Linked DNA regions of Homo sapiens: all the other regions are linked to region 1. Evidence: promoter capture Hi-C in 16 types of primary human blood cells and fetal thymus (Javierre and others, 2016). All regions are on one chromosome and are shown on one strand. Each heading gives the region's core, a stretch centred on a gene start or on the middle of the fragment in contact. The rest is flanking DNA. Distances are from core to core; before and after follow the strand shown. Region 1 holds the start of FERD3L (Fer3 like bHLH transcription factor). Region 2 has its middle 140 kb from the start of MIR3146. Region 3 has its middle 160 kb from the start of MIR3146. Region 4 has its middle 190 kb from the start of MIR3146. Region 5 has its middle 210 kb from the start of MIR3146. Region 6 has its middle 230 kb from the start of MIR3146. Region 7 has its middle 250 kb from the start of MIR3146.

Region 1 (3,938 bases), core at 714-3,213:
TGCAATGAGGGGCGAAATAAAGTGTTGGAATAATCACTGGGGATTATCCTTTAGGATTACTGAATTTATGTTTAGGTTGGCATTATTCAATCGGGTTCCTCGCCTCAGTTACCCACTCCTTTCTGAAAGACCCCAGTTCTGGTACTAGCACGTCACCTAGAAGGAAGAATCCTGGAATGGCACGGGTCCAAACTAGAGGCGGCCTCTCAGCATGGACCCGCTTCAACCTCATCTGCATGGCAGGCGTTTTGCAAGGCGTCAGAAGGCATCTCCTCTTTGGACTTTTTGTCTCCCCTGGTAGTCTCTAGAAGCCATTAGAGTGAAAGCTATCTTTCCTACCTACAGCTAAAAATGTAAAAGTGAGCGCGCTCAGGCGGCCCTGCTCCTAGAAAGATCCAGGCCCCTTCATACCCCAACCCCTGGCCGGGGACAGTTGGTAGCGGTGGCTGGTGGCGAAGCTGCAGGGCGCCCAAGGCCCCCTGCGGCCCAGGAGTGACCCGAGTGCACTCGCCCCTTACTCTGGCCTGGGGCCTGAAGAAGGCACTGGAACACGGAAGCTGATGCTGCACTTTAGATGCAAAGCGTAGATTTGCACTCTGGCTAAGGCACTGAATGAACACCACTGTGGCCCTGGGACAAGGAGCTGTGGTCCGTCTGGGATCAACTAGGTGGCGAAGGGGAGGGAGAAAGGAAGAGAGAGGGCTTGCGCGCGGGAGAGAGGAAGGGACGGGAGGGAGAGGGAATGGAAGACAGGAAGGGTGTCCCTTCTCAGAGGTCGCACTTTGTCAGCAGTTCCTCTCGACTGCTCTGCCTTCCATTTTTCCTTTCCTCAGTTCCTGGACAAGCCTCGGAGGACCAGGCAGAACCCTCTGGCTAGCAGAAAAGCTCGCACCCCCGCACCCTTGCGGCGTCTGCTTCAGACCCTCCACGCAGGCGCCCGCTGGAGCGCCTGCTGGGGATGGCGTACCACCGACCCTTCAGGCTTTTTAAAAACGTAAGAATTTCTACTTTATTATCTCTATGAAAAAAAAAATGTAAAGAAGAGAGGTTAGATTTTATAGAAGCTCCAAAGTCTGCCATTTGCGAGGAGGGTTCACTTCCCACCCACCCAGCCCACGGAAGCTCTTAGGAGCAGCCTGAACGGCCCCGACTCAGCCTCACGCTCTCTGACTTCCCCGCTCGCCCCTGACCCCGACTTCACTTAGGGCGGTCGCGTAGATATGAACTCTACAGCAGCCACTCTGCTCAGCGCATGTGGGGATCTTACAATCTCGACCCCGACCTCCAGAAGACCAGACGTTCTGTCTTGGGGCCTCCCTCCCGGCCCTTTAGCCTCACCCAGTGCCCGGTCCTGACACACCCCAGCACTACCAGACGAGGAAGGGCAGACTCTCCACACCAGGCTCAGCCGCTTTCCTTCTTCTCACAGCTCTCCAAGAGCTCGGTCATGAAGGAGATATAGACGATGGCCAGGCGGAGGGTCTCGATCCGGGACAGCCTTTTCTCGTAAGCAAACGTGGGCACCTTCCTCCGCAGCTGGTCAAAGGCCTCGTTGAGGTTGAACATCCGCTTCCTTTCGCGGATGTTGGCGGCCTGGCGCTGGGCGTAGGTGATCACCCTTTTCCTCTTGGGGCGGCCTAATAGGGAGACACCTCTTCCGCGCTCCTCTTCCTCCTCCTCTTCTCCGTCCCCCTGGTCCACTTCGCACTCCTCTTCTTCTGGGTCCCCCTCTTCAAACCGCGCCATCCTCCTGGGTCTTCCCTCTCGGAGCGCAAGGGCTGGGTCCCCCAAGGAGACCCCGGGTGCGAAGTCGCAGAGGAGAGGGCGTCTCGGGGAGGCCAGGGACAGGTCTGCGACGAAGTCCAGCACCGTAGTGTCCACGCAGCTCTCCGGATAGGCCGCCATCGCTTCGGCTTGGCCCTGCCTCTCATCGGTTTTCCGCAGGGAGGGGCGAGGTTGCTGGTGGGGATTCTTAACAGCCTTGAATCTGATGGGGCACCATCACCGAAAGGCCAGGGAACATTAAATATTTATAACCAAGCTGATAACAGGATTAGTCGCACCGATAAGGAATGCTCTGACAACGTCCCTTCTCTCGAAGCTTATGGAAGATGACAAGCTTGAGCACGCATGGAAGACTCAAAGGGACAGGGCTCCAGTTCTGAGATCCTTTTCTCTGCGCCACCCGGGACAGTTCCTTGTTGGCAACAACCCCCAGCTCTTACCTGCTGTGCTTTTTGTGTCTGTCTTCACCCCTGCAGCCAACTAATGTTCTCCAGGCTCCTTATCTCGTGTAGTTCTTTAATTTCGTGTTGGATTTTCAAAGCGAGGATGTTTTCCACCGCGATGGCTTCTCCTTGACTTCAGGGTAGGAGTCTTGAATCTTGCCACCATCTGCCAATGGATGTGGAGCAAGTGCATGTGCTTTTAATGATGTCCTGAAGAGGGGCCCTGCCTGCCTGGCATCAAGGGGAGCTGTTTGTCTGGTATCCCAGTGCAGCGGCTGCTGAAAGGCAAGACCTTCAATTAGCTTAAGTAAGCATGGCAGGGGGACCGAGAGTGCATTCCCCAGAGTCGCTGTTGGAACCGGCTTTCTTTTCTTTCCAGGGCATCGCAAACAGCTCTCCTGCCACGTTACAAACCCTGACTTCTAAAGTCTGTTTGGATGCAATCAGCGTAACAATTGAGATACTTGACTTTCCTTTCCCTACCTTTACCTCCTACTCATATAAAATAGAGGATTTTATTCCAAGAGGAAAAGTTATGATGGCAATAAAATGAGAAATTTAAGCTCAGGATATTTTCTATGCTCGGGCTTTGCTGTATACTTTTCAGTGTGGGGGACAAAGCAAACTCTCCTCACAAACAAAACCACTTCAAGCTCTTTTCAGAAATGCGATTTGCCCTTGATAAGCCAAAGAGTCAATCAGCTCACCCTCTGCTGAGGAGTCTTCGGACTTTTAAATTGCGGATCGAGTATTTGTTCCCGAACAAAGAAAAAAACCTAACACTTCCATCTGGCGTATTTTCCTCATTGATTTGTATTGTCCTACAGTAAGACTTAAGTGCAGAAACAATGATTTATTGAAATATATTTAAGGGAGTTTTTGGCTATCGTTAGATCGTTATTTTTGAGAAAAGAAAGAGATTTTAAATTTGGCATAAGAAAAATAAGAGATTACTCATTTTATATTATCTCGAGTATCCCAAATATTTTAACAAAAAGGTTCTTTTTCTTTGTTTGCCAATAACTATATTTACTTAATTATTCAGTACTGTGTAAAGATTTATTTAAAAGACCCATTGTGTCAAAGTGACAGATTAGAAGATAATTTTAAAGGTAGATTGGAAGAAATAGCCTAAAAAGATGAATGTAGAAACATCCCGGTTCAAAAGAGAACTGCCCAGGACGTCAGTCCCTATTAAGGGGGTAAGTTGTGGTTATGATGGTTCACTCAGTACATTGGACAGCTCCCAGAAACCAGAAACCGCCTATTTCTAACAGGTAATCTCAATTCATTTTCTTCTTCCTAGCCTCTATGTGTGTAATCAAAACAGTATAACCTTTAATTCTTCTTCTTCTTTTAACCCATTTGTGTCTGGTGTCTCTCGATCTTTTAATAGATTTTATCTTCTTTTGCTTGTGTTTACTCTTCATTCTCCAGTTTGAATTGTGATAACTCAGGCAGAGAATAATTGAAATTTGTGATCCTGGAAGATGTTAAAGAGAATGAGATCTTTGGTTGTTACTTAGTTGATTTTTGCTAAGCATCTTTCAAAGGGAAGGCTGAAAAATAAATAATAGGATTGTCAACAGTGGCTATGAAGCTAGTAAATGGGAGAACTGATTTTTGTTTCAAAAAAGTAGTAACATGCTTGCTAACCCTCGTTTAAATTAATATGTTATTAAATATTTGGACAAATTTCTTGTTGATTTT
Region 2 (3,938 bases), core at 618-3,117, 420 kb after region 1:
GATCCTTGGATCTATATAGTTAATGTTTCTGACCAAATTTGGTAAAGTTCTGGCCATTTCTTTCAAAATAATTTTTCTGCCTCTCTCTTTCTCAACCTCTTTTCCTGGAATTCCAGATACACATATGTTAGGGTGATTGATATTATCCCAGACATCTCTGAAGTAATGTTTATTTTTTAACGTTTTCTATTTTATTGGATAAAATAATTTATATTTGTTTATTTTCAAAGGTATGAATCTTCTATTATTTCAAATCTACTATTGAGTTCATTGAGTAATTTTTAAATTTAATTTATTATGCTTTCCAGCTCTAAATTTTCTACTGGGTTCTTTTTTATACTTTATATTCCTCAATAGAGATCCTCTATTTGTTGTCTCATTGTTATGATATTTCCCTTTAATATTTTAGCTATTCTTTCTTTAATTATTTGAACATACTTATCAGTCCTACTTTAAAGTCTTTGTCTGCTGAATCTAATATCCATGCCCACTCGAAGTCAATTTCTTTTGATTTTTTTTCTGAACTATGCAGCACACATTTTTGCTTATTTACATGTCTGGCATTTTTTGTTTGCAATTAGTATGATAAGTAATATGTGACAGTGACTAGATTCTGTTCTGTTTTAGGGTTGTTGATTTTTAAAATAATAAATAGGCCATTTTTAGTATAGTCTTAGATTTACAAAATAATTAAGCAGGTATTACAAAGAGTTGCATACATTCAAACCCCATTCTCTACCATGACTGTCACCGTTTCCCACGTTACTGACATCTTGCAGTAGGATGGTACCTTTGTTATAATTAATGAACTAATGCTGATATATTATTATTAGCTAAAATTCATAGTTTATATTAAGGTCATTCTTTGTGCTGTAAAGTTCTACAGGGCTTGACAAATGCATAATAATATATATTAACCATTACAGTTTTATACAGGATGGTTTCACCATCCTAAAAAATACCATGTACTTCACCTACTTATCCTTCTCCTCCCTCTCTGCTGACTGCCACTGATCTAAAAATATCTGTAAAACTGATTCATTAAAAATTGCAAAATTGTAAAAGTGATCCATTAAATACTGTAAGTGAAAATGATTTCTATAGTTTTGCCTTTTCAAAAATTTCATATAATTGAAATCATATAGCATGGAGCCTTTTCAGACTGGCTTCTTTCACTTTACAGTATACATCTACATTGTTTTCATGTCTTTTCATGGTTTATAGCACATGTGTTTTGTGTTGCTTTTATTATTTTTAATTGAAACATAATTTTACATATTTATGGAGTATAGCATAACATTTTAATACATGTGTACAATGTACAATGATCAAACAAGGGTAATTAGCGTATCCAGCAACTCAAGCATGTATCCATTTTAATGTAAATATTCAAAATCCACTCTTCTAGCTATATGAAAATAAACAATAAATTGTTAATTATACTCACCCAATAGTGCTATTGAACACTGGCAGGTTTCTTTTTATTGCTCAATATTTCTTTCCATAAATGCACTACAGTTTGTCTCTTCATCCTCTATTATAGAACATCTTGGTTTCTTTAAGTTTTTGGCATTTATGAATAAAGCTGCTCTAAACATTTATGTGCAGGTTTTTGTGTGGACATAAATTTTCAAAACTGGGTAAATACCTAGGAATATGGTGGCTGGATCATATGGTAAAATTACTTTTAACTTTAAAAGAAACTACCAAACTGTCTTCCAAAATAGTTGAGCTATTTGCATTGCTGCCAGCCATGATTGAGTGTTCCTGTTGCTCAGCATTCTCACTGGCATTTGGTATCATGTTTGCTTGTTTGTTTTTAATTTTAGCAACTCTACTAGGTGTGTAATGGTATTTCATTACTGTTTTGTTTATAATTTCTTAAAGATACTTCATATGAGGTATCTTTTCCTATGCTTATATGTCATCTGTATAATTTTCTTTACTGAGCTCTATTCAGATCTTTTGCCCATTCTTAATTGTGTTGTGTGTTTTTTGTTGAGTTTTTGAGTTCTTTGTATATAATTGTATACAAATTCATTATCTGATATATTTTACAAATGATTTCTCCCAGTCTGTGACTTGTTTCCTTATTCTTTTAACAATGAGCAGGAGTTTTTAATTTTAATAACATCTAAATTATCAATTTCTTCTTCCATGATTAGTGCTTTTTGTGTTCTATCTACAAACTCATCACCAAATCTGGTTGCATGAATTTTACCCCACTTTATCTTCCACAAGTATAATAAGTTTGCATTTTGTACTTAGGTTTGAGATCCATTTGAGTTAATTTTTTTTGCAAAGGACATAAAATGCCTATCTGGCTGTTTTTTATTTTGTTTAGTTCTGTTTTGCCTATGGATGTCCAGTTGTTTCAGCACCATTTGTTGAAAAGACTATCCATTCTCTTTTGGAATTGCCATTACTCCTTTGTTAAAGATCAGTTGACTATATTTTGGTGGGTCTATTTCTGGGCTATCTATTCCATCGATCTATTTGTCCATTCTTTCACCATACCACACTGTTGTGAATATCCTAGCTTTATGGTGAACCTTGAAGTTGTTAGTGTCAGTCTTTTGACCTTGTTTATCTTTGGTATTGTGTTAGCTGTTTTGGATCTTTTCCTTTCCATGTAAACCCTAGAATAAGTTTATTAATATCTACAAAATAACTTACAGGAATTTTGACTGGGATTGTGTTGGATTTTTAATTCATTTGGGGAAGAAATGACATTTTCATGAGTCTTTATTTCCATGAACATAGACTGTCCTTATTTATTTAGATTTTGATTCTTCATTGCATTTTCTAGGTTTTCTCCCATGTATCCTGTATATAATTTGTTTGATGTGTACATAATTATTTCTTTCTCACTCTTTTCTTGGCACTAATATAAATGATACTGTGTTTTAATTATAAATTATAATTGTTCATTGCTAATATATAAGAAAGCAACTGATTTTGTATATTAACCTTTTATTCTATAACCTTGCTGTAATTACTTGTTAAGGTTTTTTGTTTCCGTTAATTGATTAGATTCATCCTGGGAAATCCGTTTCCTCTTGCGTATAGCTGCATATATCTCCACTCAACATGTCTGTAGCTTGATCCCTAGAGGATTGAGTATTTTCACATTTACCCAGTGATTTGGGCAGAAACTATGCTGAATCACCTCAAATTTGTAAGGCTTCCACTGTCTGCTAACTGGGCTGCGTAGGTAGAGGACTACATTCAAAATCACAAGTGACTTGGATTTTACTCATGACTCAAGAATCTCTTCTACTTTTCATTGGTCAGTCACAGGTCTCCAACTTAAGGCATAGCTTAGCAGTCCACCAAAGATGTGGAGAGTTTGTTATTTTATGCCTTCTATAACTCAATTTCAAGATTTCTCCCTTAAATTCTAATGTTCTGCCTCCCACCCCACATTGAGACCATAATACCTGGCCATCATAGTTGCCAATTATTGTCTCCTATATTCTCTTCCTGAATGAGTCCACCAGCATAGCTAGTAAACCTTTGTGCCGTCAATCTTGAACTGTGCGAACCATCACTCACCACTCATAAAGCTCCAGTTTTTACTGCCTGAGCTTTGGTGGTAGTGGTGGGTGGAGGTCAGTGGTATTTTGAGCATCCCTGGGTAAGAAGCCCACAGATGTTCCATTGGTTTCCTCCAATGTAGTAGCAGGTTTTTGTTTGCTTGTTTGTTTTTGACAGAGTCTCACTCTATCCTCCAGGCTGGAGTGCAGTGGTGTGATATCAGCTCACTGCAACTTCGGCCCCCCAGTTCAAGTGACTCTTACGCCTCAGCCTCCTGAGTAGCTGGGATTACACATGCCTGCCACCACACCCGGATAAATTTTTTGTATTTTTAGTAGAGACAGGGTTCCGCCATGTTGATCAGGCTGGGTCTCAAACTCCTATCGTCAAGTGACCCACCT
Region 3 (3,938 bases), core at 995-3,494, 400 kb after region 1:
CAATGGGAATTTGATTCCAAAATTTCTTAACTGTGTTAGAAATACTATTTTCATGACAGCAATTAATGTACAAAACCCAATCATTCTTAACATGAATTTGATTAGACAAGGTTTTATTGTACAATACAAATTTATAGTAAATGAAAATAACAGAAACTAATTTTTTTCCTCGAAGTATTATATAACTATCCACTTACATCAGGGGTTTGCATTTTGTATCTACCACACCCTCCCTTCCCTTTTTTATTTATGGGTCCCAGCCCCAGGCACAAAACAGAAAAAGGTGAGGGTCATCTACCTGGTTAACTGATTTAGTTCTTTTTTTTTTTTTTCCTTTGTTACAGTGAGCCCAGTGCATCATATGCCATTGAGGAAAGCATAAATGAGCAAGAGTCATGAGGATATAGAACTGCTTCTTTCTATTGTCTCTCACATCAATTTAGGAGCAATTCTATGGGGAATCTACTTCTGGGGAAGAGTCCCAGGAGGTTGACCATGGCTGCTGGAGGTGGGGATCTGGTGGGAGAGAAACATTACATGGCTATGAAGATGAATATGAGGAACTTAAGGTCCAGGGAGCCCATCTAGGTACCTGGAAGTCCTTGACATGTATCACTAGCAGAGGCAGGAGAGTAGGGGTGGGCACAGCATCCTCTCAAAGAGACCACATGAATGGGCCTGGAGCTGGTGCTTGGAAAGAGGGAAGTTCATGGTGTTTGAAAAAGGAAGGACAGAATAAGCAAGGCACATTCAGAGATGTGAGAGGCCATCACAGACTCTAGACCTGAAAATGTGCCTCCCATCTCATCTTGGCCCAAGGGCCATGCCCATTCTGAACTAAGACAGGAGCAAAGTCGTGTAGTATCATTTGCTGGGTTGTGTTTGGGCACAAATAACATAGAGAACCAGAGGAAGCCGTGCCTTCCATAAGAACAGAGCAGCTCAAATCAGTAATATTTTTCTGCTGATGTGCAGAGGGAAACTTAGGGACAGGGGCTGGTTCAGAATGCTCTGTCCTGCTTAGGGAACAGTGTTATAGAATGGACTTGTTGAAGCTACTCGCTTAAAGGCTATGGAGATAATTGGAACATATGTACCTGAGAAGACATGGTACTCACAGTTATGGCTGAGGGCCTGCTTAAGGACCCCGAGGTAATAACGGCAAGATTTTGCTCTTTGACTCTGGATGACCTCATTAACCGTCTACTGTAAATGCTGTAAATCCATCAGCGTCTGTAGGCATTGGTACCTGCTTACTTTCTGTTCTGGGTGTGAAACCCTTGATAATCGCTTTTGACAGTACTTATTTTCACTTCTTCATCTTGAGTTGAACCTTACTTTCAAGAAATTCCTGCTTTTCAAAGAAATTCTGAATCGCCGGGATCCTTCAAAGGTGAAAGGAGTTGCCAGAAAGGGGGAGAGAAACATGAAAGCGTCTTGACAGATTTTAAGGTACAACTTTAGTGTTTCTCAGGGACCTGCTTTTCATAGAGAGGACTAAGACTGTACAACACGACAGGAATATGAGATGGGCAAGTCTCAACCTGAAAGAGCAGAGATACAGATCCTCACTGAGTTCTGTTGTCATTACTAGTTATGATGACAGGCCATGAAGCCCCAATAGGCCTAAATGTTCAGATTCTATATATTGACTGCTACTAAAAATAGAGCAGGAAAACAAGCTTTGACAGTGCCTGAGAAGACCTTCTTTGATGTTACAGGGGCATGAGACACATCCCCAACGGCAGTGCATTCTCTCCATTAAGTTACCAGGGTCCCATTGGCAGAGAACAAGAGCCCCGAGGAGTAACAGGACATGTTCCACCATCCTCAGAAGTTGCCCCAGCCTGAGGCTGGAGAGGATGGATAACTAAGGTTGGTACAATATGTTTAGAAAACTCACTAAAATGGCTCAGAGGGTATTTTTGAGGGCTCTCTCTTCCCTCAGCATCTTTTTCTTCTTTTGCTTTATGAAGTATTCTAATAATTTCAATATGAACTTTCCCTTCTGATATTTATTTTAGAATAAAGAATCTTTTAATAGGAGCTTTGTTCTTAAGAATTTGTCCGAAAGGATTTTTTTTAAAATGCTCATCACTGTAATGAACATCAAAATCTAAGATTCTCAGTCTTAAGATCAGAACTAGAGAGCTATATATGCAATGTAAAGTTATAGAGACTTTGGGTCTCAGACCAATAGCAATGGCTTGTTTCAAATTCAAAATGGAAATACATTCCCAGAATCAGATACTTCATAAAGGGATATAAAAATAGAGTAGTGGAGAGGCCACATAGCACAGGGTTAAGGTCAAAGGCTCTGGAAAAAGAGAACCAAGATTTTAATTCCAGATTCAAAATTTAAAATTGTGGAATCTTGTTCAAATTAGTTAGCCATGCTGTGTCTCAGTTACTTTCTCTAAAATGAGGATAATAGTGGTATCTAACCACAAGGCTGAAAACATTATTTGACTTCTTCACTCTGGGTTTAAGTTCTGCTCTAAGAGCCTTGGGCTCTAGACATAAATGAAGATTTTTACTTGTCATCTACAAGTCTATGTAAGAAGAGAAGGAATAAAATAAAACCCCAATTTAAGTGACAGCAATGCATATCCTATTATACTAGCTATCGAAGAAGTGCAAGAGGGTCTCCATTTTGGGGAAGATTATTTGGGCTGAACAAAAAGGGTCGAGTGTTTAATCTTCACGGTATTGTTTAGGTTTGCCATTTCCCTTTTGGAATGTCATGTTTTTGTCTATTACTTAAGGAAAAGGATTTTGCCAAACCCAGATCATTTGGAAAATAAAAGCAAGCTTCAGAAAAATATTAAGACAGAAGTTTCTCTATCTAGTTTCGAAAAGAACCACTTTTCACTTTTCATTTCTCAGAGGGCTGGGATAATGCATCTGGTGAGTGGCTGGTGAAGGAAAATGTAATGAAGTCCCAGAGACGGTGTAAAGGTAGGGGAGGGAGGAGACTTAAACGGAGAGGTTTGAAAAGAGGTGCCATATTTTTGAGACTGGAAATCTTGGGAGAGCTCTCAGAAATTGGGGTGAAAATATGTGGGAAACGGCAGTGTCACTTGGCTTAGATAATCACCATTACAGTTCTCTCTATTGGATGGACAGGTACTATATTGAAGCTGCGTTAAACAGAAGTCAAAAGACACAGCTATTTATCTTTTATATTCAGTCAAAACGAGTTATATGAATCAATGAGATTTGAGAAACTTCTGCAGTGGGCAGGATGTCATAGAGATTTACCAGTGTGAGGTTTATTCTCTTACCTTTAATTTACTGTTCAGCTAATAGAATTAAATTCTCAGAGCCTCTGGGTGTAGAGAAAGGAAGGCATGGGGGCGTTTATAATGTAGAACAGTGGTCCCCAACCTTTTTGGCACCAGGGATGAGTTTCATGGAAGACAGTTATTTTCAGAGACCCGGTTTTGGAGGTAGGGGGTGATGGTTTCAGGATGGTTCAAGTGCATTATGCTTATTGTGTACTTTATTATTATTACTATTTTTTTCTTTTTTTAAATTATACTTTAAGTTCTGGGATACATGTGCAGAATGTGCAGGTTTGTTACATAGGTATACATATGCCATGGTGGTTTGCTGCGCCCATCAACCCGTGATCTACATTAGGTATTTCTCCTAATACTATCCTTCCTCTAGACCCCCAACCCCTGACAGGCCCTGGTGTGTGATGTTCCCCTTCCTGTGTCCATGTGTTCTCGTTGTTCAACTGTCACTTATGAGTGAGAACATGTGGTGTTTGGTTTTCTGTTCCTGTGTTAGTTTGCTGAGAATGATGGTTTCCAGCTTCATCCATGTCCCTGCAAAGGACAGGAACTCATCTTTTTTTATGGCTGCATAGTATTCCATGGTGTACATGTGCCACATTTTCTTTATCCAGTCTATCATTGATGGACATTTGGGTT
Region 4 (3,938 bases), core at 799-3,298, 370 kb after region 1:
TTAATTATTGAAATAATTTTATTTTTTAATGAACTGCAGAGCAGTCAATTACTCTGTACAGTCAGTCAGGTTAAGACATACATCAATTCATATCTTTGTCTATTGCTTTCATTGTTGGTATTGTTCTCAATCTGCCTTTGCAAATAAATGCCCAGCCATGACACAACTACGGGATTCTCAAGTACACGCTATGCAACAGTGTTTCCTCTTTGAACTCTCTCTTTGCACTGAGTAGCAATCCTGAGACTAGTAAAATGGACCATTTTGATTTTTTTTGCAAAAACAAAATATATGAGTACTTTAATAAAAAAACTTTCTCCATTGCTCAGAAGTTGTTGGCTTTGTGTGGCCACCCAATGCTTCTGTTACTTCGTAACTACTTAGAATTTTACATATCAGGCTGTGCAATACCTATCTTGTATGGATATCAAAGAACTAACTAAAATATGATTATATAGACACATATAATAAATTATTTTTGTTAGTGAGGTATTCCACCAAACTTTATAATTGGGAATAATAGGAATTGGTTTTGAAGGTTAAAAGGTAAGATCAGCACATAATTAATCAGAGTAGAATGTGCAAAGTAAAATTAGAAAAAGATTTAATAGTTTGCTTTTACATAATTTAATTTATCAAGTTATCTAAACAAAGAAGAGGTTTATTAGAGGGCGGTGCAGTGGTTGGAGATTTTTCAGCTAGGAATTTAAAAGGAATAGGCATATAGACTGAAGTCTGTTCTTCAAGGAAGCCCATGGTTGAGGGAAACTTTTGTAAATGCACTTTCTGCATTCTGTATCCTTGGCAAAGCTAACATATGTGTTGCAGAATGAAGGAGATTATAGACACTGAACTTTAGTATTCTGTCCTGTTTTGAGATGACTACAACAGCCTTTCTTATCAGGATCCACTAAGATTGTACTTTTAAAGTTTTTTCCTTTTAAGGATTACATGTTTATTTTCATTTAATGTTGTTTCCCATTTGATTTTTACAGGGGTTTAATTTGCTCTTCTGACACACATTAACATTGTGATTCCTAGGAAAGTTATATTTCTCATTGTAAATTTTAAAATTTCTTGCTGGGTATGACTTAGCTTTGTACTTAGCTAGACCACAAAGTTATTTATGTTAATGTTGCACATTTGATTATTCCTACGATGATTTTTCTCTTCAAAATTAATAAATGATCATTCTTCTTTGATACCACTCTCTCTTGAATTGCTGAAGTGAACCCCTAAGACGTGGATAAACTTTAGATGTGCTGATAAAGTTAAGACTTTAGACTTTGTTAAACTGACCACTTAGTCAATAAAAATTCATTGAGTGCCTGGTGTAGGTATCATACTGTTTTAAGTGCGTGGGATATATCAGAGAACAAAACAGACAAAATTTCTAACCTCAGATTCTAGCTCAGATTCTAGGGGTAATTTATGGCTATCTGTGAGGTATCTTCTTGGCCTTTGCTCTACCTAGCATGCTCAAATTTAATTAATATCTCAGTCTTACACAAGTGAGTAACATCTGTACCTAGATAAGGAGGAAGTATGTCCTTTCCATCTCATCTTAAGAAACACCTTATTAGAAGGCACTTAAAACATTGTTTCTCACAGAATTTGCAGTTTTCTCCTTCTCAAACATTTTTTCTTAGAAATTCAAATTCCCTTCTCGTACATTCTGCATCATTATCTCTTTATAATCAGAGCCATCATCTTTCTACAGGATTAAATACTCAGCTGTGAAAGCATTGTTAAATTCTTTTGCTCCATCTATTTTAGTGATAACTTGGCTTCTTCGCACAGCAGTAGTCTTCTAAATCTCATTTTGGACTTTGCTGTAAAGAGAAGAAAGCACAACTTTTAATGGAAAACAAACTAGTTCTTAGGTTTTTACACACATAGAGAACTCTTTCTAAAGCCAGGAGCTGTTAGATCCATGCACTCAGACTTGCTTGAACGTGAGGTATCTGTCTCTTAAATGGTAGCAGCAAGTAATTCTATCAAAAGTGTTCTCAGTTCAGACTTCCACATGAGCTTAAAACCCTTTATAAAGCCAGTAATTTGCTATTGTATTACACATTTTAGAACAGAGACATGTGGATTAAACATATTTTAAATAAAGTCTAAAGTTGGGTAATTGACTTCATATTTATCCATGTATTTACGAAGTAATCCCAGAAAAGTGGCAATATGGTTTTCTTTTCATGTTAGTCTCAGCTTCTTTTTCTTCCATCTGTTTCTTATGTGTTGAAGTTCAGAATTCTGTCTCTAGTGATCCTATATAATTTAAGATTTGGAAGTCACTCATAGGCCCATGACTCCCAACTCTCTAGCCTGTATCAGATGAACTAAACTAACTACTTATTGGATAGTTTCACTCAGCATTTTTGTTATATTCTTAACTGGACATTTCCATAAGCACCTGAAACTCAATATGAATAAGCCTGAATTCAGTAGCTCCTTCTAAATATGTATACTCCTATTTTGGTATCTTCCATCCCAGTTCATATTTTTACTATCCATCACATCACCAATTTGGAGTCATCCTTACTTCCCCATCATTCTCAGCCTCATGGCCAATTTCAAGTCCTACCTATTCTTTCCCCGAAGTCTTTATTCAGTCTTCTCTATCTTCTACATCCTTGCTATCATCAGCCTCGTTCTAGCCCTTATCATCTGTCACCTGGATCATTACAGTAATCTCTTAATTCAGTGCTACTTGGGTGGCTGATAGACTGTAACACGACCTCACAGTCCGCCTCCTTCTGCTTAAAATCTATCATGTTAGACCTAAAACCATAAAAACCCTATAAGAAAACCTAGGCAATACCATTCAGGACATAGGCATGGGCAAGGACTTCATGTTTAAAACACCAAAAGCAATGGCAACAAAAGCCAAAATTCATAAATGGGATCTAATTAAACTAAAGAGCTTCTGCACAGCAAAAGAAACTACCATCAGAGTGAACAGGCAGCCTACAGAATGGGAGACAATTTTTGCAATCTCCTCATCTGACAACGGGCTCATATCCAGAATCTACAAAGAACTTAAAAAAATTTACAAGAAAAAAACAACCCCATCAAAAAGTGGGCAAAGGATATGAACAGACACTTCTCAAAAGAAGACATTTATGCAACCAAGACACGTGAAAAAATGCTCATCATCACTGGCCATCAGAAATGCAAATCAAAACCACAATGAGATACCATCTCACACCAGTTAGAATGGTGATCATTAAAAAGTCAGGAAACAACAGGTGCTGGAGAGGATGTGGGGAAATAGGAACACTTTTACACTGTTGGTGGGAGTGTAAATTAGTTCAACCATTGTGGAAGACAGTGTGGCGATTCCTCAAGTATCTAGAACTAGAAATACCATTTGACCCAGCCATCCCATTACTGGGTATATACCCAAAGGATTATAAGTCATGCTGCTATGAAGACACATGCACACGTATGTTTGTTGCAGCAATATTTACAATAGCAAAGACTTGGAACTAACCTAAACGTCTATCAATGATAGACTAGATTAAGAAAATGTACCATATATACACCATGGAATACTATGCAGCCATAAAAAACCATGAGTTCGTGTCCTTTGTAGGGACATAGATGAAGCTGGAAACCATCATTCTCAGCAAACTATCTCAGGGACAGAAAAACAAACACCGTTTGTTTTCACTCATAGGTGGGAATTGAACAATGAGAACACATGGACACAGGAAGGGGAACATCACACACTGGGGCCTGTTGTGGGGTTGGGGGGAAGGGGGAGGGATAGCATTAGGAGATATACCTAATGTAAATGACGAGTTAATGGGTGCAGCACACCAACCTGGCTCATGTATACCTCTGTAACAAACCTGCACGTTATGCACATGTACCCTAGAACTTAAAGCATAATAATAATAAAAAAATCTATCAATGGTACTCAATCAGTA
Region 5 (3,938 bases), core at 428-2,927, 350 kb after region 1:
ATACACACGCACATATATATATTCACATACATACACAATTAGTTAACTAAAATATCAGAGGACAATTTTAAAATATACTTCTGATGACTTCTCTAAGAAATATATTTCTGCTGGGAAAAAAAATGCTGGGGTTTCCTGTGGGTGGATGAGTTTGGGTTCCCTCTCACCAAGATATATTTTCAGTTTTCCCCTCACGAGCTTTTACTTACATATGGTTTGGTTAATATTCTGGGGTCTCCTCACTATCTCTGGCCTCTCTTGTGGAATCGTCTGCATCAATAGTTGCTATATATTAGTGAGCAAATTAAAATTTAACTGCAACAAAAGTGACTTGTAGCATTTTAGTTTATGGCTACAACTTGAAAATCTTTATAATGTGGTGCTTTTTATTTTTACAATACAGCTTGACCTGTAATCTTCCTCTGGCATCAGTGCTGACTAATTAGATATATTGTTTATTGAAATCCAAATCGTTTATGCAACTAATAATTATTAAATGCCTACTTATTATGCCAACTAATAATTATTAGTGCCTATTATGTGTTAGAAACCGTTTTAGGTGTTGAGATGCAGCAATGTATTGCTTGATGAAGTTTCAGTTTTAATGGTTGATATCATTAAAAGTATAGAAATAAACGACATTGTTTCTATAATGGAAGATTGTAATAGTAAAGGAATGCATCGATTGCTTACAAGGATAGAGAACACAGACTAAGTCAAATCAAAAGACAAAGGGAAAGTCCCCTGGAGAAAGTGACCTTTGTGTGGAACATTCTTGCCAATTTGATTAAAAATTCAAGTATTTTATCATACATGATTTATCTCTACCCTCTGAGTTCTGTTGATGGGGTAACTATTTTTATTTTGGTTGATCACCAATAGTAGGTGCAGACAAGTACACGCATTTTTCTGTTCCACTGTGGAAAAAAGATAATCTATTTGTTCTTATTTTTATGCACCTGAGAAACAGATGATTCTAACTCTTTTAAGTTCACAACCCCTTGGGACTGAAATTTATTCAGAACAGAAGTGTCCTGCTTCTTGTCTAGAGCCAGAATAGTTATTCATAAACCATCACAATGTTCAGATTTTTAACCTGTCATTTTATAACACATTTTTGGAGAAGAAAAACTATGATTCCTAATCTTTTGAAATGACTCTTTGGGGATCTGAGAAACTGCACATTCCTGACTCAAAGGTTTATAATAGCAAACAAAATCCAAGTTCACACAGCTCACTTTGAGAGGTAAGAGTATGTTTAGAGCAAGAAGTGTCAGAATTCTCCAGGACTCTGCTGATTATTCTCAAATTGGTGAAGAACTCACTCTTTCTCATTTAGCTAATTTGTCAGCTTCTCAAAATAAATATCACATGTTCTAATTTGGCATTTAAAATTGAAATTACTTAAAAATAATAGTATATTTGATACAGAAGGTACTGACTGTGAAATTCTCATACTTTTTATCCAGCCAAGTCTAACATAATAGCTTTTTGAATATGGCACAGTAAAATGGTTGTTGTTTCGACTTTTATTATTTGTCAAGTGTGTTTTGAACATACATACCAAAGTAAGCTTAAAATCAGGCATATTTTGGAACTTGAAAAAAACTAAATGTTAAAATGCCTTGCAGCAAGAAAAACTGGGCTTGAATTATTTGAAAATCACTTAATCTCCCATTTAAACTGAATTCATTTTGTACTTAATAGTTGTAACACAAAGAATGTTTTACTCACATGAGTTAAATGTTACTTTTTACTTATTCTCTAGATACTTTCAAAATATAAGCTTAAAGAAATTCTACCATGGCATGCTTAGAAAGCTGTCATTAAATTAGTAAAATTGCACATATTTCATGATATTTTTCAGAAAAGTCTACCAAGTCAATCCAAAGCTAATTTAACATTACTATTTGTATTATCATTATCGTTAGTAACGGGGTCTACCAATATATAAAATTTGACCAAGTGTGGAATTTCTCAGTTCTAACACAGAAACCATCCTATTTTGCTTAAAGTAGCATTCTCTTTTTATGCGTGGAAGATGGAGCTTAGGGACAACATAATTTTACAGATGTGGGTGGGTAGGGTTGGCAGTGGATAGGGAGATGGGGTGCTAGGGCACAGTAGAAAAAGCCAGGAGGGGGGCACTTCTACAAGTTTCTATTCCTAATTAGAACAACTGGCATGCAACTAAGATCTAAATGAATGTGACACCTTTATGTGTGGTGTCGGGGAATAGACATAGAGCCTTAAGTAAGGGGCCACATTGAAATGGAAGCACTGGAATGGAGACAGAAACTCAGAACACAAGGTATATTATATGATCAGTTCACTCCCTAGTACATTTTAATGGGATAGAGTTTAGAAATAGTTTTAAAGGTTAAATTTTAAATTAATTACAACAAAATCTAGCAGGCTTTTAGTTTACACTATGAAGACTTTTGAGAGAGCTGATAGTATTTTCCTAATCTAGGGCTGACTAGTTTAATGTCTTAATCCTCCCTCTTTATTAGTTGCCAAATTGCTCCGTTTTCATTAATTATCAGATTGGTCAGTGGCACAGCTGAGAAAGTTTAACAAGTATTCATTTCTAGAAAAAGAGAACCCACTCTAGGGTAGAGATGCTAGCAGCAAGGCTGAGACCTAACATGACCCTGGCACAGCGAGTTTGAGGAAGAAGGCCTAGAAAGTATTCGGTGGGGCAAGGAAGTTGCTAATTTCAAAAGCACTAGCCAAATACACGTAACCGTGATGCCATCATCTTGGAAGACAAAGGCTGTGTGTCCCTTGATAACAGTAACCTGAGATGCAGTTTGTAAAGAAAATAGTAAAACTTAAAACTGGTGGTATAAACTCTCCTCTACTAGCCTAAGTTATGAGGTTCAGAGGAGAAATGGTTACATAGAGGAACCTCAATTTAAGACCATGGGTCATCTTGTAGCAACAGAAGAGAGCTCTTATATTTGTGTAGTTTGGACAGATATCTTAATCTAACTCCAATCCTTAGAGAAAGCACTGGAAAATAATTCTGGGAAATATAATTTATTAAAAAATAGTAATGAAAAAAGGATACATTCAACAACATGCTAAGATACTATGTAAGAAAACGTGAAGTCTAGCACAGCATAGACTCACGTGTGTAATCCCAGCTACTTGGGATGCGGACATGAGAGGATCGCTTGAGATCAGGAGTTCAAGACCAGCATGGGCAATGTGGCGAGACCCCCCATTTCTACAAAAATTTAAAAGATATGTATACACATGTGATGTCACATGACCATATTCCCAGCCTCTTGGGATGCTGAGGCAGGAGGATCATTTGAGCCCAGGAGTTTGAGGCTACCGTGAGCTATGATAGTAGCACTGCACTTCAGCCTGGGCTACTGAGTGAGACCCTATCTATTTTTTTTAAAGATGAAAATAATTGGCATAAGTTTCCTATAGGTAACAACTCATCAGAAAAATGTTGCCATTAAAATGGATGAAAATCATAACCTAACATACCAGTTGGTATTTAATCAGAGAATTAGAACAACTATAGATGACAGACCAAATGATTTCCTCCAGGGTTTAGAAGGTCCAGCCTTATGAAATTTGGGGAAGTACCTCTGCATCTTATGTTGATCTTGCAGTCTAGCAAGAATGACAGTTGTGAAGGAAACCAGGATATGGATGAGAGTAAGGAAAATCTGGTCTTCAATTACCTCCGTTTTTTATTTTGATCATCCATTTTTATTTGTTCATCAATGACGAGAGTATTTTATTTGCTGAATAAGAGTAGCATTTTTGAATACCAAATAGCATTACCTCAAATTTTTGTGCTATTTGCTATGTAAAGGATATGGGTACAACCCTATTTTAAATTTAGTTTGTTATATTAACATTTTTCCATTACTTTCTAAGTCTAGACAATGAGCAAATAATGAATCAAGTGCTAA
Region 6 (3,938 bases), core at 850-3,349, 330 kb after region 1:
TCAGAATGTTGTTTTTATAAGTAATACATTGTTTTTCTCTGGATGATTTTAAGATTTTTTTTGTTCTTGGTTTTCAGAAGTTTGATTTTGATGTGCCTGGGGATGGGTTGTTTTGCTTTATCCTCTTTGTGGGTTCACTGAGCCTCTTGATTCTGGAATTTTATGTCTTTCACCAAATTTGAGCAGTTTTCAGCCTTCGTTTTATTTTATTTTATTTTTTAATTGAAACTATATGAATTCCTGTCCTTCTGGGAGTCTCATGACACAGAGATAAGATGTTTGTATTGTCCTACAGGTCCCTGAGGCTCGGCTGTATTCATTTGTTTTCAATCTTCTCTTTGTTGTTCAGACAATACCTTTTTATTGATATATATTCAAATTTACTGACGCTTTTTCTCTGCTCTGTCAGTGTCAGATTGATTGTTCCTCATTTGAGTTAATGTTTCTAGTTACGAAGAGTTATTTTGTATTGCATTTTAGAAATTTGAGGTATTATGATATGACTCAGTTTCCTATTTAAATGTCATGACAGTCAAGCTAGGGTGGTAGTCAGGGGTGTGTTCACACGCATAATCTCTGCAGATATCTAGGAGCCAGGAAGGGCTTTTAACTGCTTGTGTGAGATGATAGTAAGGCTTTACTCAAACAAACTCTGCAGATGCCTACCAGTGTCAGGAGGGGAACTGTCTCCCTACTGTCACCTTGGGATGGTAGCCAGGCTCTGCTCATACGCACAGCCTCTGCAAATGCCTACCAGACAGGAGACAAAGCTACTTCCTCACTATAGAGGTGGGGTAGAAGCCAAAGCTCTTGTCAGACAGTTGCACTGCTGCAACTGTCCCATATTTCTTGGAGGCTTTGTTCATTTCTTTTTACTCTTTTTTCTCTAAACTTCTCTTCTTGCTTCATTTCATTCATTTGATCTTCAACCACTGATACCCCTTCTTCCGCTTGATCAAATCAGCTACTGAAGCTTGTGCCTGTATCACATAGTTCTCGTGCCATGGTTTCCAGCTCCATCAGGTCATTTAAGGACTCCTCTACACTGTTTATTCTAGTTAGCCATTCATCTAATTTTTTTTTCAAGATTTTTAGCTTCTTTGCAATGGGTTCAAACATCCTTCTTTAGCTCAGAGAAGTTTGTGATTACCAGTTATCCGAAGCCTTCTTCTCTCAACTTGTTGAAGTCATTCTCCATCCAGCTTTGTTCTGTTGCTGGCAAGGAGCTGCATTCCTTTGGAGGAAAAGAGGTGCTCTGATTTTTAGGATTTTCAGCTTTTCTACTCTGGTTTCTCCCCATCTTTGTGGTTTTATCTACCTTTGGTCTTTGATGATAGGGTTTTGGTGTGCATGTCCTTTCTGTTTGTTAGTTTTCCATCTAACAGTCAGGTCCCTCAGCTTCGGGTCTGTTGGAATTTCCTGGAGGTCCACTCCAGACCCTTTTTGCCTGAGTATCACCAGCAGAGGCTGCAGGGCAGCAAATATTGCAGAATGGCAGATGTTGCTGCCTGATCCTTCCTCTGGAAGCTTTGTCTCAGAGGGGCACCTGGCTGTATGAGGTATCAGTCGGCCCCTACTGGGAGGTGTCTCTCAGTTAGGCCACTCGGGAGTCAGGGAACCAGTTGAGGGGGCAGTCTGTCCGTTCTCAGATCTCAAACTCTGTGTTGGGAGAACCACTGCTCTCTTCAAAGCTGTCAGACAGGGATGTTTGTCTGCAGAAGTTTCTGCTGCCTTTTGTTCAGCTATGCCCTGCCCCCAGAGGTGGAGTCTACAGATGCAAGCTGGCCTCCTTGAGCTGCAGTGGTCTCCACCCAGTTCTAGCTTCCTGGGAACTTTGTTTACCTACTTAAGCCTCAGCAATGGCAGACGGCCCTCCCCCAGCCTTGCTGCCGCCTTGCAGTTTGATCTCAGACTGCTGTGCTAGTAGTGAGCAAGGCTCCATGGGCATGGGACCCTCCTAGCCATGCACGGGATATAATCTCCTGGTGTGCCGTTTGCTAAGGCCCCTGGAAAAGCACAGTATTAGGGTGGGAGTGTCCCGACTTTCCAGGTACCATCTGTCACAGCTTCCCTTTGCTAGGAAAGGGAATTCCCCAACCCGTTACACTTCCTGGGTGAGGTGATGCCCCGCCCTGCAACATGGGCTGCACCCACTGTCTGACAAGCCCCAGTGACATGAACCCAGTACCTCAGTTGGAAATGCAGAAATCACCCATCTTCTGTGTCACTCACACTGGAAGCTGTCGAGTGGAGCTGTTCCTATTTGGCCATCTTGACAGTCTGGTTTTTTAAGACTCCTTATAGTAAAACATGAGAAGAGAGAAATAACATAATGATGAAATTGTGAATCAAAAAGGAATCAGAAGTTGAAGATTTGAAACATTTTCAGCCTATTTACATTGAAAAGAATGAGAGAACCTATTTGGAAGAGAACAGGAAGGGTGTGGCCAACCAACCATCAGCTAAGTTTAGTCAGCTAACAGGAATTAGGACCTATTATCCAAGATAATGGAATAATGACCCCAAAGATAGAAATCATCAGGGCTGCCCTTCCCAACACAGATTTAGAGTTCAAGAGCCCAGTGAGTGTGGGGCCACCACAGAGAGCCCCTGACAGGGCAGTGCCAGTGGAACAGCAGATGCAGTGCTGTCCCCATGACGCCAGACTGGTAAAGCTTACTGGCATGCAATTCCAGGCTGGGAGAGCCTCAGGTACGTGACCCAGGAACAGCTGCTATGGAGGTAGAGTTACCACAGAAAATGGCCATGGGGGCTCAACCCCTGCCTGGCAAAGCTGTGGAGGGAGGACCACTTCCCCAGTGAATCCAGAAGGCAGTACCCCCACCCCAGGGGGTTCTCAAGGTGAGACCTATGCCCAAGTAGGCCTGGAGGGCAGAGCGTTTAGTCATAAATCATTATTCTCAAGCCTTAAAGTTTAATGTTGTTTGACCTATTGGGTTGGGACTTGCTTTCAGTCTCTCACTTCTTTCTTCTTTGCTATTTCTTCCTTTAGGACTGGGAATGCATCCTGTGCTTTTCCACCATTGTATTTTGAAAACACATAAGTTGTTTGATTTTATATACACAGCTGGAAGGGAATTTGCCTCAAGATGAATTTCACCTTGAGTGTAACCCATACCTGATTTTCATGATGTTTAGATGTGACTTTGAACTTAGAACTTACAGTTGATGCCAGAAAGAGTTAAGAATTGTGGGGCTATTGGGATGGAATAAATGTGTTTTGTATGTGAGGACATGAACTGGGGGGGAGTCACAGGTGAAATGTTATAGACTGAATATTTGTGTGTCCCTCAAATCCACATGCTGAGATCTAACTCACAGTATATTGGCATTTGGAGGTGAGGCCTTTGGGAGATTATTAGATCATGAAGATGGAGCCCTTATGATTAGAGATAGAGCCCTTATAAAAGAGGCCCCAGAGAGCTATTTTTCTCCTTCTTCCATGTAAGGATGCAATAAAGAGTCGTCTGTCTGGTAAGCAGAAAGCAGTACTCACCAGATGTCAAGTCTGCCAGTGTCTTGATCTTGGACTCTGCAGCCTCCAGAACTATGAGAAATCAATTTTGGTTGTTTATAAGCCACAGAGTTTATGGCACTTTTGTTACAATGGCCTGAACAGACTAAAATAGAAATTAATTTCCTTCTATAGGTTCAAGAAGCTATTTCATTGTCTTTTGTTTTCTATCATGTCTGTTGAAATGTCCACTGAATATCTAACTCAATATGCAAATGATGTATCTTTTTCGTCTGGCTACTTGCAATATTTTCAGTTTTGTTTTTACCAGTTATTATGTAATACAACATGCCAAGGTGTGTTTTTCTTTATATATTTCTTGCTTAGTGTTTATAATGCTTTCTGAATCATTGGCTCAATATATTTCTGTTAAGAAAATTTTCAGCCTATATTCACATTTTTT
Region 7 (3,938 bases), core at 859-3,358, 310 kb after region 1:
ATCATGAGAACAGCATGGGAAAAACCCACCCCCATGATTCAATTACCTCCCACTGGGTCCCTCCCACTACACATGGGGATTGTGGGAGCTACAATTCAAAATGAATTTTGGGAGAGAACACAGCCAAACCATATCATTTTCCAAACTTTCAGATTTCTTCCTTGGGAACACCAGTTATTCTAACGTTTGTTCATTTAACATAATTCCTAACTTCTTGGAGGCTTTGTTCATTTTTTTAAAATTCTTTTTTCTTTGTCTTTGTCAGATTGGGTTAATTCAAAAGCCTCGCCTTTGAGCTCTGAAGTTCTTTCTTCTTCATGCTTGATTCTACTGCTGAGACTTTTCAGCAAATTTTGCAATTCTCTGTGTCCTTAATTTCCAGAACTCATAATTATTTTTTGTTTTAATGCTATTTATTTTACTGGAGATTTTTCCATTCATATCATATTCTGTATCTTTTTTTAAATTTCTTTAAGTTGGAATTCACTTTTTCTGGTGCCTTCTTGATTAGCTTAATAGTTGACATTCTGAATTCTTTTTCTGACGATTCAGAGATTTTGTCTTGGTTTGGATCCATTGCTGGTGAACTAGTGTGATCTTTTGGGGGTGTTAAAGAATCTCGTTTTGTCACATTACCAGAAATGTTTTTCTCGTTCCTTCTCATGTGGGTAGACTGTGTCAGAGGGAAGATCTGGGACTCCAGCGCTGCTGTTGAGATTCTTTTATCCCATGGGGTGCTCTCTTTATGTGGCGCTCTCCCCTCTCCCCTAGGGACGGGGCTTCCTGAGAGCCAAATTGCAATGATTGTTATTTCTCTTTGGATCTAGCCACACAGCAGAGCTACCTGGTTCTGGGCTGGTACTGGAGAGTGTTTGCAAAGAGTCCTGTGATGTGATTCATCTTCAGGTGTCTCAGCCATGGATACCAGCACCTGCTCCAGTGGAGGTAGCAGGGGAGTGAAGTGGACTTTGTGAAGATCCTTGGTTAAATTTTTGTTAAGTGTGCTGGTTTTGTGTTGGTTGGCCTCCAGCCAGGAGGTGGGTACTTTCAAAGGTGCATCAGCTGCACTTGTATAGGGAGGATTCAAGATTGCCCTAGGGTCAAGAGATGGGCAGGGCCATAGGGCTCCCAAGGGATGATGTCTTTTGTCTTTGCCTACCGGGATGAATAGAGAAAGACCATCAGGTGGGGGCAGGGTTAGGCTTGTCTGAACTCAGACTCTCCTTGGGTGGGGCTTGGTTTGTCTGCTGCAAGGGAAGGTTTCCAGGGAGGATTATGGCTGCCTTTGCTGTGTCATACAGGTTGCCAGGGAATGGGGGAAAGCCGGTAGCCACAGGCTCACCCAGCTCCCTTGCAGTCAACAGCCAGAAAGGCTGATCTCACTCTCACTGTGCCCCCACCAACTGCACTGGGTTTATTTCTCAGGCAGCCAGTGAGCAGGGCTGAAAACTTGCCCCTGGCTGCAAGCCTCCCAGCTGAGAAAGCAAGCGGACTCACAGACTCACAATTCCTTGGCTGTCCCATGGAGGCTTCAGTAGCAATCTGCCTCCTTCAAAGGGTCTGTGGATTCTCTTGGCTTTCCTGGTATGTTCCTGTGGTAGCTCTTAGAGCAAAAGTTCACAATATGAGTCTCCACGCACTATTCTGTCCGTCCAAATGGGAGCTGCAAGTTAGTCCTACCTCCTGTTTGCCATTTTCCCTCTTGCTAACTTTAAAATTATTTCTTTCACCTTGACTTTAGACATTCTGAATATAATATGCTATAGTAAAGGCCTTTTAGCAATGTATTTGCCTGGGGATTACTGGGCCTTCTCTATTTGGATGTCTAACTCCCTTGATAGACATGAAATCTATTATAGAATAATTTATAAATTTCGTTGCTTTATGTATTCCCAGGTGTCCCAAAGGCTTTGTTCATCCTTTTTTATTTTTTCTTTAGTTTTGTCTCACTGGCTTGTTTCAAAATACCTGTCTTCAAGTTCTCACATTCTTTCTTCTGCTTGCTCTAGCAGATTACTGAAGCTTTAGAATGTGTTTTGAATTTTCTTCAATGAATTTTTTAGCTCCTGAATTTCTGCTTGTTGATTTGTTTATTTATTTATGTATCTATCTCCTTTCTAAATTTCTCCTTCATATCTTGATCTGATTTTCTGATTTCATTTGTGTTGATTTTCAAATTTCCCTTGCATCTCATTAAGCTTCATTAAAACCAATATTTTGAATTATTTATCTGGCAAATCAGGGAATTCTTTTTGATTAAGATCTGTTGCTGGACAATTGTTTTGGTCCTTTGGTGTCATATTTCCCTACTTTTTCATGTTTCCTGTGTCCTGATGATATTTGTGTACCTGGTGTAGCAGTCACTTGTTCCAAAATTTTGAAATTGCTTTTGTAGGCGAGTTTTTTTCCTGAGGATCATGTATCCTGTTTATTGAATTTAATACTTTGGCTTTGATTTTGGGTCCCTAGGGTAGTTTTTTCTTTGTATGTCATCTTTGGCAGTACACAGGGTCAGTTGTTTCTGTGATTTCCTGAGTGACTTAGGGTACAGTTGTTAGTTGAGGTTGTGGTGAAGTTTTGCTGGGGACTTAGGACACCAACTGAGCCCAGTCTTCAGGCCCCAGTGGTGGCAGAAGTAGGGTGAGCATGCCTGTTCTTAGGCCCCAGAGCAGCTTTCACTGCCCCTGGTGTGAGTGGGTCCTGGAGAGCTGATTCCTGGGCCTCCAGTTGGCCGGCTTAGAAGCTAGTAATGGAAATGGTGGACCAGGTATGTAGGTAGCTTCTCAGGCCACTGGGTAGCTGGCGTGGTGTGGGCGATGGTAGTAGTGGTGGTGGAGCAACTCCTGGGACCCAAGCAGTCTGTGTTGCTGTTGTTGGAAGCTCTGATGGGTTGGGTGGGCTAGTTCCCAGTCCCACAGCTGCCCATAGCAGGGTGAAGGTTATTGTACTAAGCATGCTTAAGAGAGCCTGTTCTCCCCTGTTTGTCCCCTGACTAGATACCATTTACAGCTACATTGACTCAAACTGCCTGCAGGTGGGGCACACCCCAACCTTAAACTCTCAAAATGGTGCCAGCTGGGGCTTGTGACCACATAAGGTGGGCCCATGTCAGGTGAGCAGCATGGGCAGGAAACTGTGGGGAGTGCAGTATGCTCTAGTCTTGTTCTCATGGCAGCTCATAACAAGGCATTAGATATTGTCCTAGATATGCATAGGAGAACCAGGTTTCCCTGTCCTTGATGCTGTGGTGGCTACAGCCATGTCAACTTGAACTTGGCCTGAGGTCTGGACACAGCATGGTGTTGAAATCTCAAAATGGCACATTGACCCTACAACCACGGAGGGCAAAGCACCTCCCAGGCAGACAGTGTGGGCAAGAAGCTGTGTGGACTGCAGTCTGCTCACATCTCAGTATCAACAGCAGCTCATTGGAGAGCAGTGGGTGTTTTCCTAGATGTGCATAGGGTAGCCTGGTTTCCCTGATGCTCCATGGCTCAATGGTGGCTGCAGCCATGTCAGTCTGATCTCAGTCCAAGGGTGGGGTGCAGCCCACAGGTAAACTCTCAAAATGGCACCTTGGGCCAAGGATCAGAGGGAGCATGGCACCTTTAAAGCAAGTAGTATAGGAAGAAGCTGTGGAGGGTGTGGTCCACTCGCATCTCAGTCTCACAGGAGCCCATTGCAGAGTAATGGGTCTTGTCCTATATATGCACAGAATAATCTTGATTCCCTTTTCCTCCTTGGCTGGGCAGCTGCTGCAGCCAAATCAGCCAGATCTCAGGCAGAGGGTGGGGTACAGCTCAGCATTAAACTCTCAAAATAGTGCCTTTGGCTTGGAAACTGAGAGGGTGGGATCCCTCTCAGGCAAGCAGCATGAGCAAGAAGCTGTGGGCAGTACAGTCTGCTCCTGTCTCAGTCTTGGCAGCCCACAGCAGGGT

Evidence for each region. Contacts are between HindIII fragments. The CHiCAGO score rates a contact against its expected background, and 5 or more counts as called.
Region 2: a contact is called between a fragment that was not itself captured here and the fragment with the promoter of FERD3L in region 1, in 2 of 17 cell types (M2 macrophages and M0 macrophages). The highest score is 6.7, in M2 macrophages.
Region 3: a contact is called between a fragment that was not itself captured here and the fragment with the promoter of FERD3L in region 1, in 1 of 17 cell types (M1 macrophages). The highest score is 5.3, in M1 macrophages.
Region 4: a fragment that was not itself captured here is called in contact with the fragment with the promoter of FERD3L in region 1 in 4 of 17 cell types (M2 macrophages, M0 macrophages, M1 macrophages and 1 more); the score reaches 6.9 in M2 macrophages.
Region 5: a contact is called between a fragment that was not itself captured here and the fragment with the promoter of FERD3L in region 1, in 4 of 17 cell types (M0 macrophages, M1 macrophages, M2 macrophages and 1 more). The highest score is 7.8, in M0 macrophages.
Region 6: a contact is called between a fragment that was not itself captured here and the fragment with the promoter of FERD3L in region 1, in 1 of 17 cell types (M0 macrophages). The highest score is 5.7, in M0 macrophages.
Region 7: a contact is called between a fragment that was not itself captured here and the fragment with the promoter of FERD3L in region 1, in 3 of 17 cell types (M0 macrophages, M1 macrophages and M2 macrophages). The highest score is 9.1, in M0 macrophages.

What each region holds. Positions count from the first base shown.
Region 1 is chr7:19,143,458-19,147,395 of GRCh38, forward strand. FERD3L (Fer3 like bHLH transcription factor) reads right to left here and starts at 1,964. Exons shown (of 1, transcript NM_152898.2): 1 at 1,325-1,964. The coding sequence starts at 1,905. The coding sequence ends at 1,405. RefSeq lists enhancers at 697-1,896, 2,362-3,010. The HindIII fragment of the contact is 4,985 bases long and covers 1-2,099 here.
Region 2 is chr7:19,564,026-19,567,963 of GRCh38, forward strand. No RefSeq gene overlaps it. Among named protein-coding and RNA genes, the nearest start is that of MIR3146, 140 kb to the right of the region's middle. The HindIII fragment of the contact is 5,840 bases long and covers 1-3,938 here.
Region 3 is chr7:19,538,769-19,542,706 of GRCh38, forward strand. No RefSeq gene overlaps it. Among named protein-coding and RNA genes, the nearest start is that of MIR3146, 160 kb to the right of the region's middle. The HindIII fragment of the contact is 1,129 bases long and covers 1,681-2,809 here.
Region 4 is chr7:19,514,470-19,518,407 of GRCh38, forward strand. No RefSeq gene overlaps it. Among named protein-coding and RNA genes, the nearest start is that of MIR3146, 190 kb to the right of the region's middle. The HindIII fragment of the contact is 5,074 bases long and covers 1-3,938 here.
Region 5 is chr7:19,495,794-19,499,731 of GRCh38, forward strand. No RefSeq gene overlaps it. Among named protein-coding and RNA genes, the nearest start is that of MIR3146, 210 kb to the right of the region's middle. The HindIII fragment of the contact is 213 bases long and covers 1,572-1,784 here.
Region 6 is chr7:19,477,868-19,481,805 of GRCh38, forward strand. No RefSeq gene overlaps it. Among named protein-coding and RNA genes, the nearest start is that of MIR3146, 230 kb to the right of the region's middle. The HindIII fragment of the contact is 1,148 bases long and covers 1,526-2,673 here.
Region 7 is chr7:19,454,534-19,458,471 of GRCh38, forward strand. No RefSeq gene overlaps it. Among named protein-coding and RNA genes, the nearest start is that of MIR3146, 250 kb to the right of the region's middle. The HindIII fragment of the contact is 176 bases long and covers 2,021-2,196 here.